Linked DNA regions of Homo sapiens: region 2 is linked to region 1. The links are contacts of gene promoters, found by promoter capture Hi-C in blood cells and fetal thymus (Javierre and others, 2016). All regions are on one chromosome and are shown on one strand. Each heading gives the region's core, a stretch centred on a gene start or on the middle of the fragment in contact. The rest is flanking DNA. Distances are from core to core; before and after follow the strand shown.

The links. Contacts are between HindIII fragments. The CHiCAGO score rates a contact against its expected background, and 5 or more counts as called.
Region 2: a contact is called between the fragment with the promoter of TXNL4A here and a fragment that was not itself captured in region 1, in 2 of 17 cell types (naive CD8 T cells and M2 macrophages). The highest score is 5.3, in naive CD8 T cells.

What each region holds. Positions count from the first base shown.
Region 1 is chr18:79,691,543-79,698,390 of GRCh38, forward strand. It overlaps CTDP1 (CTD phosphatase subunit 1), which reads left to right. Exons shown (of 13, transcript NM_004715.5): 2 at 3,683-3,766; 3 at 4,435-4,528; 4 at 6,318-6,446. Among named protein-coding and RNA genes, the nearest start is that of CTDP1, 15 kb to the left of the region's middle. RefSeq lists enhancers at 6,261-6,762, 6,763-6,848. The HindIII fragment of the contact is 7,815 bases long and covers 1-6,848 here.
Region 2 is chr18:79,985,597-79,992,444 of GRCh38, forward strand. TXNL4A (thioredoxin like 4A) reads right to left here and starts at 2,967. Exons shown (of 3, transcript NM_006701.5): 1 at 2,644-2,967. The coding sequence starts at 2,796. RefSeq lists silencers at 2,780-3,019, 3,060-3,349. The HindIII fragment of the contact is 10,310 bases long and covers 1-4,611 here.

The DNA of each region.
Region 1 (6,848 bases), core at 2,229-4,728:
GGGGGAGGAGTGGACGGCTCCCAGGGTGGACTCGGGGTGGGGGAGGAGTGGACGGCTCCCAGGGTGGACTCGGGGTGGGGAGGAGTGGACGGCTCCCAGGGTGGACTCGGGGTGGGGAGGAGTGGACGGCTCCCAGGGTGGACTCGGGGTGGGGGAGGAGTGGACGGCTCCCAGGGTGGACTCGGGGTGGGGGAGGAGTGGACGGCTCCCAGGGTGGACTCGGGGTGGGGAGGAGTGGACGGCTCCCAGGGTGGACTCGGGGTGGGAGAAGAGTGGACGGCTCCCAGGGTGGACTCGGGGTGGGGAGGAGTGGACGGCTCCCAGGGTGGACTCGGGGTGGGGGAGGAGTGGACGGCTCCCAGGGTGGACTTGGGGTGGGGGAGGAGTGGACGGCTCCCAGGGTGGACTCGGGGTGGGGGAGGAGTGGACGGCTCCCAGGGTGGACTCGGGGTGGGGGAGGAGTGGACGGCTCCCAGGGTGGACTCGGGGTGGGGAGGAGTGGACGGCTCCCAGGGTGGACTCGGGGTGGGGAGGAGTGGACGGCTCCCAGGGTGGACTCGGGGTGGGAGAAGAGTGGACGGCTCCCAGGGTGGACTCGGGGTGGGGAGGAGTGGACGGCTCCCAGGGTGGACTCCGGGTGGGGAACAGTGGAGAAAACCTTTGCAGAACACACTCTGCAGGCGTTTGTCAGCCGTTGATCCATTTGTGTGAAGCCCCACTGGCTGGAAGGTGCCCCCCGCCCGCCATGGAGTTTTCTGGGCACCTTGGTGGGTCGTCTGTCGGTCATACCTTTGAGTCTTTCTGGACTCCTCTGTTCCATGCGTTTATGTTGTATGCCTGATAAGTTCTGAAGTCAGGTAGTAAAAGTTCTCTGTTATTTTTGAAAATTGAGATTCTAGGTTTTCTGAACTTCCATATAAATTTCAGAAGCAACTTGTCAATTTCTACAAAAAAACACCTGTTTATTGGTTAAACTAGAGCCACCCCAGATCCTTCTTCATGTTAACATGTTTAGGAGAGATTGGCAAAATCCTCCTAGTTCATATTTGAGGATTCCTTTCCCTCTCTTCCCCTTGCAGGGGGTAGAGCAAGGAGGAGCCCGCGGTGAGCTGGTGTCTTGCATGGGGCAGGGGGTAGAGCGAGGAGCCCGCCGTGAGCTGGTGTCCTGCGTGGGGCAGAGGGTAGAGCAAGGAACCCGCCGTGAGCTGGTGTCCTGTGTGGGGCAGGGGGTAGAATGAGGAGCCTGCCATGAGCTGGTGTCCTGTGTGGGGCAGGAGCTGTGCAGAGTTTCCTTGCAGAAGGCTGATTGCAAAATGATGTCAGCTGGAGACCAGGGAAGCCTGTTAGAGGGGCTGGGGCTCCCAAGTGGGGTTGCTGCCAGGACTGGGGGAGCAGTGCCCAGGGAAAGGACGTGGGGCCATTGGGAGGACTGGGTTTGGGTGTTGGCGGTGGGGCCGCAGAGCCCTGTGGATGGACGAAAACAGCTCAGCCGGGGAGTTGGGGGCTGCCAGGCATCGGAGAGGAGCCTGGATGTGGAGGCCCCGAGTGCGATGGCGGTAGGGACACAGACTCCTGGGCGGGGATGGCCCCTGTGGCCTCAGCAAGCAGGGAGCAGGTGTCCCTGAGGCCTGTGAAGCCTGGCAGTGTCTTTGAGCAGGTGTGGTGACCGGGAGGGAGGATGGTCCAGTGTGGGGTTTGTGCGTTTTTTTTGTTTTTGTTTTTGTTTTTTTTCAGAGATTGGGTTTTTAGGTTAAGTCTCTGCTCATTGGGGCATTTTAGGGCAGAACTCTAATCATTCATTGTAAAGTATTTTGATAAAATTAAGGAAATCATACTTGTCACCTTAGAAAGTTTAACACACTTTTTCAAACAAGGTGTCACTATTTTGTTGTCTGGTTTAAGAAAAAAACCTGATACAGGTTGAGTCTCCCATATCCAAACTGCTTGGAAACAGAAGTGTTTTGGATTTCTGGGTTTTTTTGGATTTTGGAATATTTGCACGTATACATGACGAGATGTCTTGGGGATGGGACGTGAGTAAACGCGGAATCCATTTGTGTTGCACATGCACTGTGTACGCACAGGCCCAGGACCCGGAGGAGCTCAGATTCTTGATAGTCACCGGCAGCCCACTCCATCCCCGAGGGCTCGGAGCCCCGCACCGTGTGTCCTCAGCACCGTTCCTCCTCCAGGGTGATCCGCACACGCCCATCCTCCTCCCCAGGAAGAACTCCCCTCCACTCCCCTCCAGGCTACAGACCCGCCCCTCCCATTCTCCCTGCAGGATGCTGGCTACAGACCCGCCCCTCCGAGTCTCCCTGAAGGATGCAGGCTACAGACCCGCCCCTCCGCTCCCCTGCAGGATGCAGGCTGCAGACCCGCCCCTCCCAGTCTCCCAGCACAGCCTGCCATGGCACAGTGGGCATGGAGGATGTGGCTCCGCCTTGTTTCCGCCTGTGGCCTGATCCTTGCGCCCTCTCGATGACATGGCTGGGGGTCTTGGTGGGCCATGGGGCATCCCGCCTGGAAAGGTCCCATTGACAGATGCAGCTTGGGTGGCTGTCTCATGTCCGCGGGTCAGGGTGGTCGGAGCAGCCCGGCTGGGACGGGAGTGTGGGGGCTGTGAGCACCTAGGGGCGGGTGCTGAGTGCTGGGCGGCCTCATGTCTGCAGGGCAGGGTGGTCGGAGCAGCCCGGCTGGGATGGGAGTGTGGGGGCTACAGGCACCTAGGGGTGGGCGCTGAGTGCTGGGCGGTCTCATGTCCACGGGGTGGGGTGGTCGGAGCAGCCCAGCTGGGACGGGAGTGTGGGGGTTGCGAGCTCCTAGGGACACTGAGTGCCGGGCAGCCTCGTGTCCGCGGGGCGCGGTGGTCGGAGCAGCCCGGCTGGGATGGGAGTGTGGGGGCTACAGGCACCTAGGGGTGGGCGCTGAGTGCTGGGCGGTCTCATGTCCACGGGGTGGGGTGGTCGGAGCAGCCCGGCTGGGGTGGGAGTGTGGGGGCTGCGGACACCTAGGGTCAGGCGCTGAGTGCTGGGTGGTCTCATGTTCGCAGGGTGGGGCGGTCGGAGCAGCCCGGCTGGGGTGGGAGTGTGGGGGCTGAGGGCACCTAGGGGCGGGCGCTGAGTGCCAGGCGGCCTCTGGTCTCATAGCCTTCAGATTTCAGCACTTCTTCCATGGCTTCTGCCAGAAGACCACTGTTTGGACAAATAAAACAGTTTGTGTTTATATAAAACGAACATTACAGTCATTTTGTCAGGAAAATGTAGTTGCATCAGCCTCTGTCTAGACTGGGAATGATATGAAAGTTTTAGATTTTATAAATTCTCTAACGGAAATGTCAGAGGATCACATATAAATAGTGTGTTTTGAGACAACTTTATGTTATCCCCAAGTCTCCTCTTTGGACCAGACATCCTTAGTTTTTTCAGCTGTTCCACGGGTGGCACGGGGGTGGTGAGGTGTGGTGGCGTGTCATTTTTCATGAGAGACACCTGTAGGTGGAAAGTCCTTTCATTTTATAGACAAAGAAATGCCCTCAAGGGGTGATGTCACCTGCCTACAAAGTTATGCAAGGGTTAGTGTAGAATTGGTACAAAAACCTAGATTTTAAAATTCTTACTTGGGGGCTCTTTTGATAAACCAAGAGATTTTAAAGTGTTGTTCCCCTTGTGTTTTTTTGTAGAGCGGTTCTGGTGAGGTTGGAAGGATGCAGCCACCCGGTTGTCATGAAAGGCCTGTGTGCTGAATGTGGCCAAGACCTCACCCAGTAAGTATCCGGAAGAGTGAGATCGCTGCCTGCTGGGGCTCGAGGTGGTGGCCTCCGGGGAGTCCGAGAAGCTGTGCTGGGAACACAGTGAGGCCCTTGGTTTCCCAGCGGCAGATGCAGACGCCTCCCTTGGGCCCCATACGAGTCACACTCAATGGGTTTCCCTGGAGGCAGTCCTTCCTGCTCTGTGACCCCAGCCTCATGCCATTCTCAGGTGTGGTGGGGGGGCATGCTGGAGGGCCGAGACCTGTTTTCTCCTGACTGAAGACGCAGATCGCTGAGTGCCTGGAGCAGCCCCTCCCTCTGGGCCGCTGAGCGCCCCATGCTGGGGGCTGCTTTACCTCTAATGCCAAGTGGGAGGTGCGGCAGCTACTTTTTCTGCGTTTTCATGGTTGAGGGCCTGTTTCTGCTTCTGTGTGACTTTGCAGTTTGTTTTCATGAAGGACTATGGCTCTGTGTGTTCATGAGTGTGGCCACGAGCTCAGTGTTTCCACCAGTTTTCCTGTCTGTGGAGAATGTTTCCACGTTTGCCGACAGAATCAAGTCTGTGCTAAGATAGCAGCGTGTGTCCGTTAAAACATCAGCTAGAATCCTGTCACTTAGAGCCCAGTGTGCATCTGTGCGCAGAGACTCAGCTGAAAGCCCTGAACCTGTCCTTGCACTTGCAGGTTGCAGAGTAAGAACGGGAAGCAGCAGGTGCCGCTGTCCACGGCGACCGTGTCCATGGTGCACAGCGTGCCGGAGTTGATGGTGAGCTCCGAGGTGAGCCGGGCATCAGTGGCGGCGTGTTGGGGAAGCGTGGTGCTCTGAGGAGGGCGGCTGCAGGAGGAGGGTGGCTGCAGAAGCACGGACGTGTGGTTGTCATCGTCGTTACTGAAACAACCCCTCATCACACGGATGACTTATGGGACTGCGGCCTTCCTGAAGCAGGGACGGTTGCCCTTGGTTCTCCACAGACAAGTCTGCCTGCAAAAGCGACTCAGGGCCCCGAGGCTGTGTGACCTGCGTGTCGGGAACACCAGGTGCTGCCGCCGCAGCTGTGAACAGCCAGGCTCAGCCTGGGTTCCCTTGAGCCAAGTCCTAACTGGGGAGGGATGTGACAGCTGCTCATGGAGCTCAGGAGGTGGCCGCGCTGCCGAGGCATGTGCTGGATGACCCGGGAGGGCAAAGCGCATATTGGGGCAGATAATGGCGAGGAGTCGGTGGCCGGGGGTAGGGGCGGGGGGACGTGGTTGGTAGCACCTTGTTGGCTACAGGAGCGGCTGCTGCTGGCACCATTGGGAAGCTGGCTCGGGAGAGTGGGCACATGCAGGGGCGGGTTGGGGGTCCCAGGAGTGTTTGCCTTGTAGCCGACAGGAGAGCCCATGGGGGGTACGCAGGGTGGAGAGGACGGGCAGGTGTTCACGTGCCCAGTTAAGAGTGAGATGGGTTTTTATCTTCGAGTGCTACGCCTCGTTTATGTATTTCAGGAGTTGCTGGGGCACTGTGGGTCAGCGGCTCCGGGCACCTCCTGTGCTTGAGGCAGACACCGTCTCCCCGACCTCGCTTCACCCCGTGGGTGAAAATGCTCTGGGAGCTGAGAAAAACTAGTTTGTGATCTTACAGACTTTCAGGGCTGCACAGTTTTGTAAATAGGTAAAACACTTTCCAGTGTTACGATTTTAGTAAATTCGTGCTTTTAAATGATGGACACCAATTTCAGTCTATCTTTTTATGGGAAAAGCAAAATGCCAGATACAGGATTCTGGGTTTTCTGAATTACCAAACTTTAAACAAATGTAAAATGTGTATGCGTAAACCAAAGCTGGCAAGTTTGAGGGTGAAGGGAGGAGGAAGTACCCCCCATCTTTCTGGCACCTGCCAGCCCTTCCGTGCGTTTCCCTTCGGGGATGGGCACGGGAGGAGGTCCCCCCTGAGCGGGACCAGGATTTTGTTGTGAAGAGTGAGGGCCAGTTACAGTGAGAAAGGCAGCGTGGTGCGTCACATCCCGTGTCCCATGCCGGGCTCCTGATGCCGGGGTGACCGGGCCCTTGTTAGGAGCTCCACTCTGGGCCCCGCGTGGAGGGACACCCCGATGCGCTGTTGCCAGGCCCCCGGGTCTCTTCGAGGCACAAGAATAGGCTGAGCGTGGAAGGTTCTGAGCGCGGGAGATTCTGAGCGCATTGCCCTTACCAGTCTCTGCTGCCCAGCTTGGGCCACCCAGCGTCTCCCAGCCGGCCGACTTGGTTTCTTCATTAATTTTGCAGTTCACTTTTATTGAGCACTCCATACTGTTGAATCCAGCTTTTATAGAAACAACCAGTTTCCCTTCCCCCTCCGTTTTCATTGGCTCATGTATTTAACTGAATTATAAAATTGTGGTCACAAGCGAGGTTGCCGTGACCAGGTTGGTGACCCAGCCCTGCCTCTCGGCCTGTACGGCGCAGTCCATGGAGCGTGGGGGGCTGGAGGGGAACACATTGATATAGTTTTGTGTTTCTCGATGAAATGGAGTTTTACCTTGGATGCAAACATACTGACTTTGTCATTTCTTGTTTCTTTTTAATTGTAGCAAGCTGAACAGCTGGGAAGAGAAGACCAGCAGCGACTGCACCGAAACCGGAAGCTGGTGCTCATGGTGGACTTGGACCAGACGTTGATTCACACAACCGAGCAGCACTGTCAGCAGATGTCGAATAAAGTGAGTGCAGTCAGCATCTACGGACAGTTTCCCAGGAACCGCGGGTCCTAGAATTTTGATTCAGAAGTGTGTTCTCTTGTTTTTTAGATGATTTCCCGTAGGTCAGCCTGGGTTTGGAAAGCAGACTTGCTAGTTCTGGGCGTGGGCCGTGTGTCTGCTGGGCTGTTGGGGAGCATCCGCGGCTCCCGGGCAGACATCCCGACGCCCACTGTGTCTCACGCTTCCTTCCGTGTGTGTGGGAACCCTTTGTGTGCCTGCCCGGCACGATGTCGGAGAAGGCAGAAACGTCCCGAGCCTGTGAGGATGGTGTGGTGGATGGTGCGAGGCGTGTCCTGAGAGGGGCAGTCTTGGTGGGGAGGACGTTGGTGTTGGATGCCTTTATGTTGCTAGGATGTCAAGGGC
Region 2 (6,848 bases), core at 1,717-4,216, 290 kb after region 1:
ACATTTATTAGCAAACTCTAGGCATCTGTGAAATCTTTTAAGCATAGCTCTGTTTCCAAACTGACTTTATTCCTGAAGTTTACAGCTCAACTCTAATCCAGCATGAAGTCAAGTGGGCCCTGTGGAAGCAGCAAATCAATACAACACATCTAGGAAAAATCATATCAAGTCCAGCCTGAACATTTGCAACTGTTACTCACTTTAAAACAGCTGGAATATCCAGACAGAACTCGGAACAAGGTAAGGAAGAGTCCCCATTATCTGCCATTTCTGCACAGGGAAATTTTTAAATAGTTATATTGTTCTTTATACTAAAACCTTATATTTCAAAAATTTCTGTTGAGCTTCTCCAAAAAAGGGCTTCCAGAATTAGGAAGTCATATTTGCCCATAGACTAAGAAGAAAATAAAACATGAATATTCTTTTAATGCATTTCAGGTGTGCACTTTTTTTTTTTTTGGAGACAGAGTCTCACTCCTGTTGCCCAGGCTGGAGTTCAGTGGTGTAATCATGGCTCACTGCAGTCTTGACTTCCCGGGCTCAGGTGATTCTCCCACCTCAGCCTCCCAAGTAGCTGGGACTACAGGCACGTGCCACCACGCCCGGCATTTGTACTTTTAGTAGAGAAGGGGTTTCACCATATTGTCCAGGCTGGTCTCGAATCCCTGGGCTCAAGTGATCGCCTACGCTGGCCTCCCAAAGTGCTGGGATTACAGACATGAACTACCGCGCCTGGCCTAGGTTTGCCCTTTTAATAACTATATTATAATATTCGCATTAAAAGTTTATTAATAAAGCTATCCAAATTTTTGGACAAAAACAAAAATCAGACTATTTTAAAAGACCAAAAAAAATACCCCAAAGTGAGCCCATTTCAACTGTCCTTAAGTGTGTGTCCACTATGTGTGTCCACTAGTGATACAGTGATTCATTCTGTAATAACAAAGAAATTGGACATAAAGGAGTTGGAAAAGAGCAAATCTGGCAAAGACCCTAAACACTTACATTAACACATAAAATCTGTTTTCTAGCTAAGAGCATCTTGCTGAGCTGTGCTCGGATGTGATGAGACAAAGGCCCTCACATCTCCAGCCATCCTAGCCTCGAGCTGCCGGCAGCAGGATCTGAACACCACCCGATGTTTATGCCACCACCTGCAATGTAGAACAGTGAAAGATTCTAGAATTCATAACTCAAAGTCAATACAGCAGTGATTTACTTATTGGGAAACTGCTCTTAGTCAATTCTTCGCTGGATTTCCAGTATCTGCCCTTGTCCACTACAGCTCAAGCAATGACAAACTGATGTGTGGCACTGCCTCTCTCATCATCTCTAATCCCCGGCTGGCAGAACCCCCAGCGTGTGAGAGAACTGCTGCTCTCCCGAATTCCCTAGGTCCCTCCTCAAGTCCTCAGTGTCCAGGAGGAAGAGGCTGCGAGATGGCTGGTACTAAAGCTACTCCACCTCCATCCCTGACCCCCATGGAAGGTGGTTCAAGGTCAAGTCGCATCAGAATTCCCTGAGGGGCTTCTTTAAAAAGCCATTGCTGGACTTCACCCCATACCCATAGAATCAGAATCACAGATGCATTCTAGTAAGCACTCCAAGGGAGTCTTGTAATAACTAAAATATAACAACAGTTCCTAACTTCATGCCTCTCCTACTAAATAAGAAATAGCAAAAATTAATAAATGGCAGGCCAGATAGTCTTTCCTTTCCTGAATATAAAATATGTCCTTACATCTGTTACTCTTTACTCAAAGGAGTTATTTTAACCCAGGCCTACTTTTTAGCATCTGTGAAAGAAAAGATAGCTTCAATGTTACTTTTACTCTTCATTAAAAGGAATAACCTCTCAAATTACTTATGGAAAATTAATATGGCAAATATTTTATTAACACCCTAGTATTTGTGCCCTTTGCCCTATTGCTACAGCTGCAAAACCTCAATAAAAGTCATCCTAAAATTGCTATGAGGAACCACAGAAAAAGAATGAAATCTGGTTATAAAATAGTGTCCTACAACTTTTATTGTCAGCAAGTAAATGCCAAGACCACTCAGTGTACTAATATTAGAAATTCAGAGAACTAATTCTAACAAAGCATATTTCTATTTTCTCCTGATGTTTACTGCACCTCAATCACTGTAAGCTGTAAACCACATGACTCACAAAAAGCGTGGTGGGATAAAAAAACACACCCACAGAAAAGCAGGATTTCTCATGCTATGAACATGAAAGTCCTGCTTTATGCATACAACGAATAACTCAGGTACCAAAAAAAGACGTCCTTTTAAATTAAGGATCCGCGCTCTCAATAAAACCTGCAAGTGCATTTTGTTCACTGAACTATAAGTTTGGGAAAAACGCCTTATCAACAGAAATAATTAATTCATTTGAGAGGAGGGGGATCATAAACCCTTTAAAATATGAAAAACTACAAGAGCTCCCCGCAGAAAAAGGCGTGAAACGCCGGCACAGTCCCCGAGAGCGCTCGACCGCAGCGAGGGGAGGAATCGCCTGAACGACGGAGCCGCGGCCCCTCCTCGGGGAACAGCTCGCGCCCCCAGGCGACGCCGGCAGGGCAGAGGCGCGGGGCAGATGCGGAAGCACAGCCCGCAGAGCGGGAGAGTCCGGCGCGCTACCTTCTCGGCGATGCTGTACAGGACCTCGTCCATCTTCATGCACGTAGGATCCCAGTCGTGGCCGAAGCGGATGACGACCACGCGGTCCTCCTCCGAGAGGATGGCCTGGTCCACCTGCCAGCCGTTGTGCAGGTGCGGGAGCATGTACGACATGGCGGCCCGCGCGCTCGCCGCCGCCCAAGGCGGGGCGCCAGGGAGGGCCCAGCGAGGTGGGCTCAGCCGGCCCCTCACTCCCCGGCCCCCGCCGCCCCCGGGCCCACGGACGAAATCCGGTCCCGCCCGCACACGCAAACTCCGCTGGGACTGCCACCCGGCAGAACGTCTGGGCGCGCACGCACCGACGCCGTGCGTGCTGACGGCATGCGCGCGCGCTAGCGCCGTGCGTGCTGACGGCATGTGCGTATAGGCGCCGCGCGAACGTGTAGTTGGCCGGGTGGAGCGGCGGCGACCTGGGCACCGTGGAGCGCCGTTGGTTCCGTCATAGCAGCTGTCGGAGTGGGGGTTCCTCCCCAGCGTCCAGGCGGCCTGGTGGTCCTGAGAAGCCCCGGGCTCGCCGTGCCCTGCCCCCACGCTCCCGCCCCGAGGCCGCCCGCCGCCGCCCGGGCTGTCCTCCAGCCACGGATGGGGACGTCCAGAAAGGCCCGGAATGCCCGGCACTGCGGCTCGTTTTCTTCCTTTCTGGTGCTTGTTTCTGTGTGTTACTAAGACAGTTCATGTGTGTCATTTGTGAAACTTGATCATAAAAATGTGTCGTTGTTGCCATACCCAACCACAGCAGAGTCGAGCAGCGGGGTAGGGAGGAAGCACTGGGCAGGCCGTCCTTGAGGAATGTCACCATCAGGCCGGCTGCTGAGCTGCCTGTTGTAACCTGAAACCAGGTTTTTTAATTTGTCTTTTTATAAAGAAAAAAAATTTTTTTTTGAGACGTGCAGTGACGTGATCTTGGCCCACTGCAGCCTCCGCCTCCCGGGGTCAAGCGCTTCTCCTGCCTCCGCCTCCCCATAAGCTGGGACTACAAGGCGCCAGCCCGGCTAGTGTTTTTTTGTACTTAGTAGAGACGGGGTTTAACCATGTTGGCCAGGCTGGTCTTGAACTCCTGACCTCAAGTGATCTGCCCGCCTCGGCCTCCCAAAGCGCTGAAATTACAGGAAGAAGCCACCGCGCCCGACCTAAAGCCAGTTTTATTCCATAGCTTCAGCATAACTTCCACCTCCAGGACTGATCTGGCCCCCTGGCTTCGCTCACCAGTCAGAGCTCCCCAAACCCTTACTAGTGCCAGTGAACTTTCTCAAAGAGAAATAAGTTAATATTTCTCTTTTTAAAATAAAACCTCTAACCTCTGTTCTTCTGAGAGAGCACTTTGGGTTCATGCTGGAGACTCCCTGGTTTGCAAACTGATATTGATAGTAAAACTCTTGTCTACTATCTAGCTATCCTGGTGGTCCTTTAGATGACAAATTTAAAACAAATCACGCCCGGGCGCGGTGGCTCACGCCTGTAATCCCAGCACTTTGGGAGGCCGAGGCCGGCGGATCGCCTATGGTCGGGAGTTCAAGACCAGTCTGGCCAACATGGTGAAACCCCGTCTCTACTAAAAATACAAAAAATTACCCGGGCATGGTGGCGCCCGCCTATAATCCCAGCTACTAGGGAGGCTGAGGCAGGAGAATCGCTTGAACCCAGGGGGTGGAGGTTGCAGTGAGCTGAGATCGCACCACTTCACTCCAGCCTGGGTGACAGAGTGAGACTCCATCTCAAAAACAACAACAAATCACTATGCAGATGCTGTGGTGTCTCTCAGATGGGCTGTGGCATGGTGAGAACTACAGTCTGAAGAGCCTGCTGGCATGGGGATTGAAATGGGTTCCATGTTTGGTTTCCTCTGGGACACAGCACCATAAGGTGCTTTGATAATATGCACCCACAATTTAAATACTAGAATCACAAGTGCAGCTCACTGCCAGATTAAGCTTTTTACATAATACAGAATATTTCCCAATTATATACGAAATGCTTTATTGTAATGAAACAATTTCAGGTTGGTAGGATATTAGAGATCATCTAAATCTCTTTCATTTTATAATTGAGTAAAGCAGAGGCACAGAATATAAGCATAGTGGTTAACAGTGAGGGTTTTAGTTACATAAAGGCGTGTTCAGGTTCATCTGTGCCTTGCATAAGTTATCTCAACAAACTTCAGTTTCCTCATCCATGAGATGGGATGATAAAACAAAATCTCCTGTACTTCATTGGCACCAGGTACACACTGGAGAAATCTGAGCCCTTACTAAGGTCAGGCTATTGCCTTCTAAAAAATTCCTTACCGTCATTTTGGTAGTCACTCATTTCAGATACAAACACAGTTGCTTAACACATCACAAGCATTTTATTCACAGGAGAGTTGTTCCAAGCTAAGGCATAAGACTCAAATGTCCCCAAATAATTTATTGAAACTCATTTTTTATTGTGTTACTTATAACAAGATTTATCGCCTTAATTTTTAAGGACATTAAGTACATTCATATTATGCAACCATCACCACTATCCATCTCCAGATAAATCTTTTCTTTAATAAAAACTTTTGGCCGGGCGCGGTGGCTCACGCCTGTAATCCCAGCACTTTGGGAGGCCGAGGCGGGCGGATCACGAGGTCAGGAGATCGAGACCATCCTGGCTAACACGGTGAAACCCCGTCTCTACTAAAAATACAAAAAAAAAATTAGCCGGGCGCGGTGGCGGGCGCCTGTAGTCCCAGCTACTCGGGAGGCTGAGGCAGGAGAATGGCGTGAACCCGGGAGGCGGAGCTTGCAGTGAGCCGAGATTGTACCACTGCACTCCAGCCTGGGCGACAGAGCCAGACTCCGTCTCAAAAAAAAAAAAAAAAAAAAACTTTTGTTGAGATCTAATCCATATACTATAAAATTCACCAATTGAAGGTGAGATGGTTTTTCAGTGTTGTGGAACCAATACCACAATCTAATTTTAGGAGAATGTTATCACCCCGAAAAGAAAACCTATACCCATTAACAGTCATTTCCCATTTCCCTCCCATTCCCTCAGCCCCTGGCAATCACTAATCTATTTTCTGCCTCTATAGATTTACCTATTCTAGACATTTCATATAGATGGAAACACAAAATATGGAGTCGTTTGTGACTGCTTTCATTTAACATAATGTTCTCAAGGTCCATATTGTAGCAGACATCAACAGCTAGTTCTTTTTAATTGCTGATGAATATTTCATTAAATAAAACAAAAAATTAGAAACTATTCCATTATATGGATATACTACATTTTATCCATCAGTTGATTGACATTTGGGTTGTTTGCATTTTTTTACTATTATGAGTAATGCTGCTATGAACATTCATGTACAAGCTTTTGTGTGGACTTAAGTTTTCATGTGGTAACTGTTTAACATTTTTAAGTATTGCTAAATTGTTTTCCAAATTGGCTACACCATTTTACATTCTCACCAGGAATGTGTGAGGGTTTCAGTTTTTCCACATTCTTGCCCATGCTTGTTATTTATGTACCTCGTGAACCCCAAAAATCTGAGACAGGTCTCAATTAATTTAGAAAGTTTATTTTTCCAAGGTTGAGGATGCATCCATGACACTGCCTCAGGAGGTCCTGATGATATGTGCCCGAGGTGGTCGGGGCACAGCTTAGTTTTATACATTTTAGGGAGGCATGAGACATCAATCAATATATGTAAGAAGAACATTGGTTCAGTCTGGAAAGGCGGGACAACTTGAAGCAAGGACAGGAAGACTCAAAGCGGGAAGGGGGCTTCCAGGTCACAGATATGTGAGAGATGAACAGTTGCATTCTTGTGAGTTTCTGATCAGCCTTTCCAAAGGAGACAGTCAGCTGTGCATCTGTCTCAGTGAGCAGAGGGATGACTGACTAGAATGGGAGGCAGGTTGAAGGGACCCAAGATACTTTCCTTTCACAGCCTTGTATTATGGTCATACTGGTAGGTATAAAATGATAAGGTGGTTTTCATTTGCCTTTTCCTAATGGTTAGTGACTGTTCCTCAGTGGCCAGGCCTATACAAATCTGCCCCAAAGTCAGAGGAAGCTGAGACGCCAAAGAAAGGGACTGGCAAATCTAGTTCTTTAGAGAGAAACATTTAATAGGGACTTATGTACAGAAGCCACATCTGTGTCTCTGGCAGTGGTGAGACAAGGTGGTGGTTTCC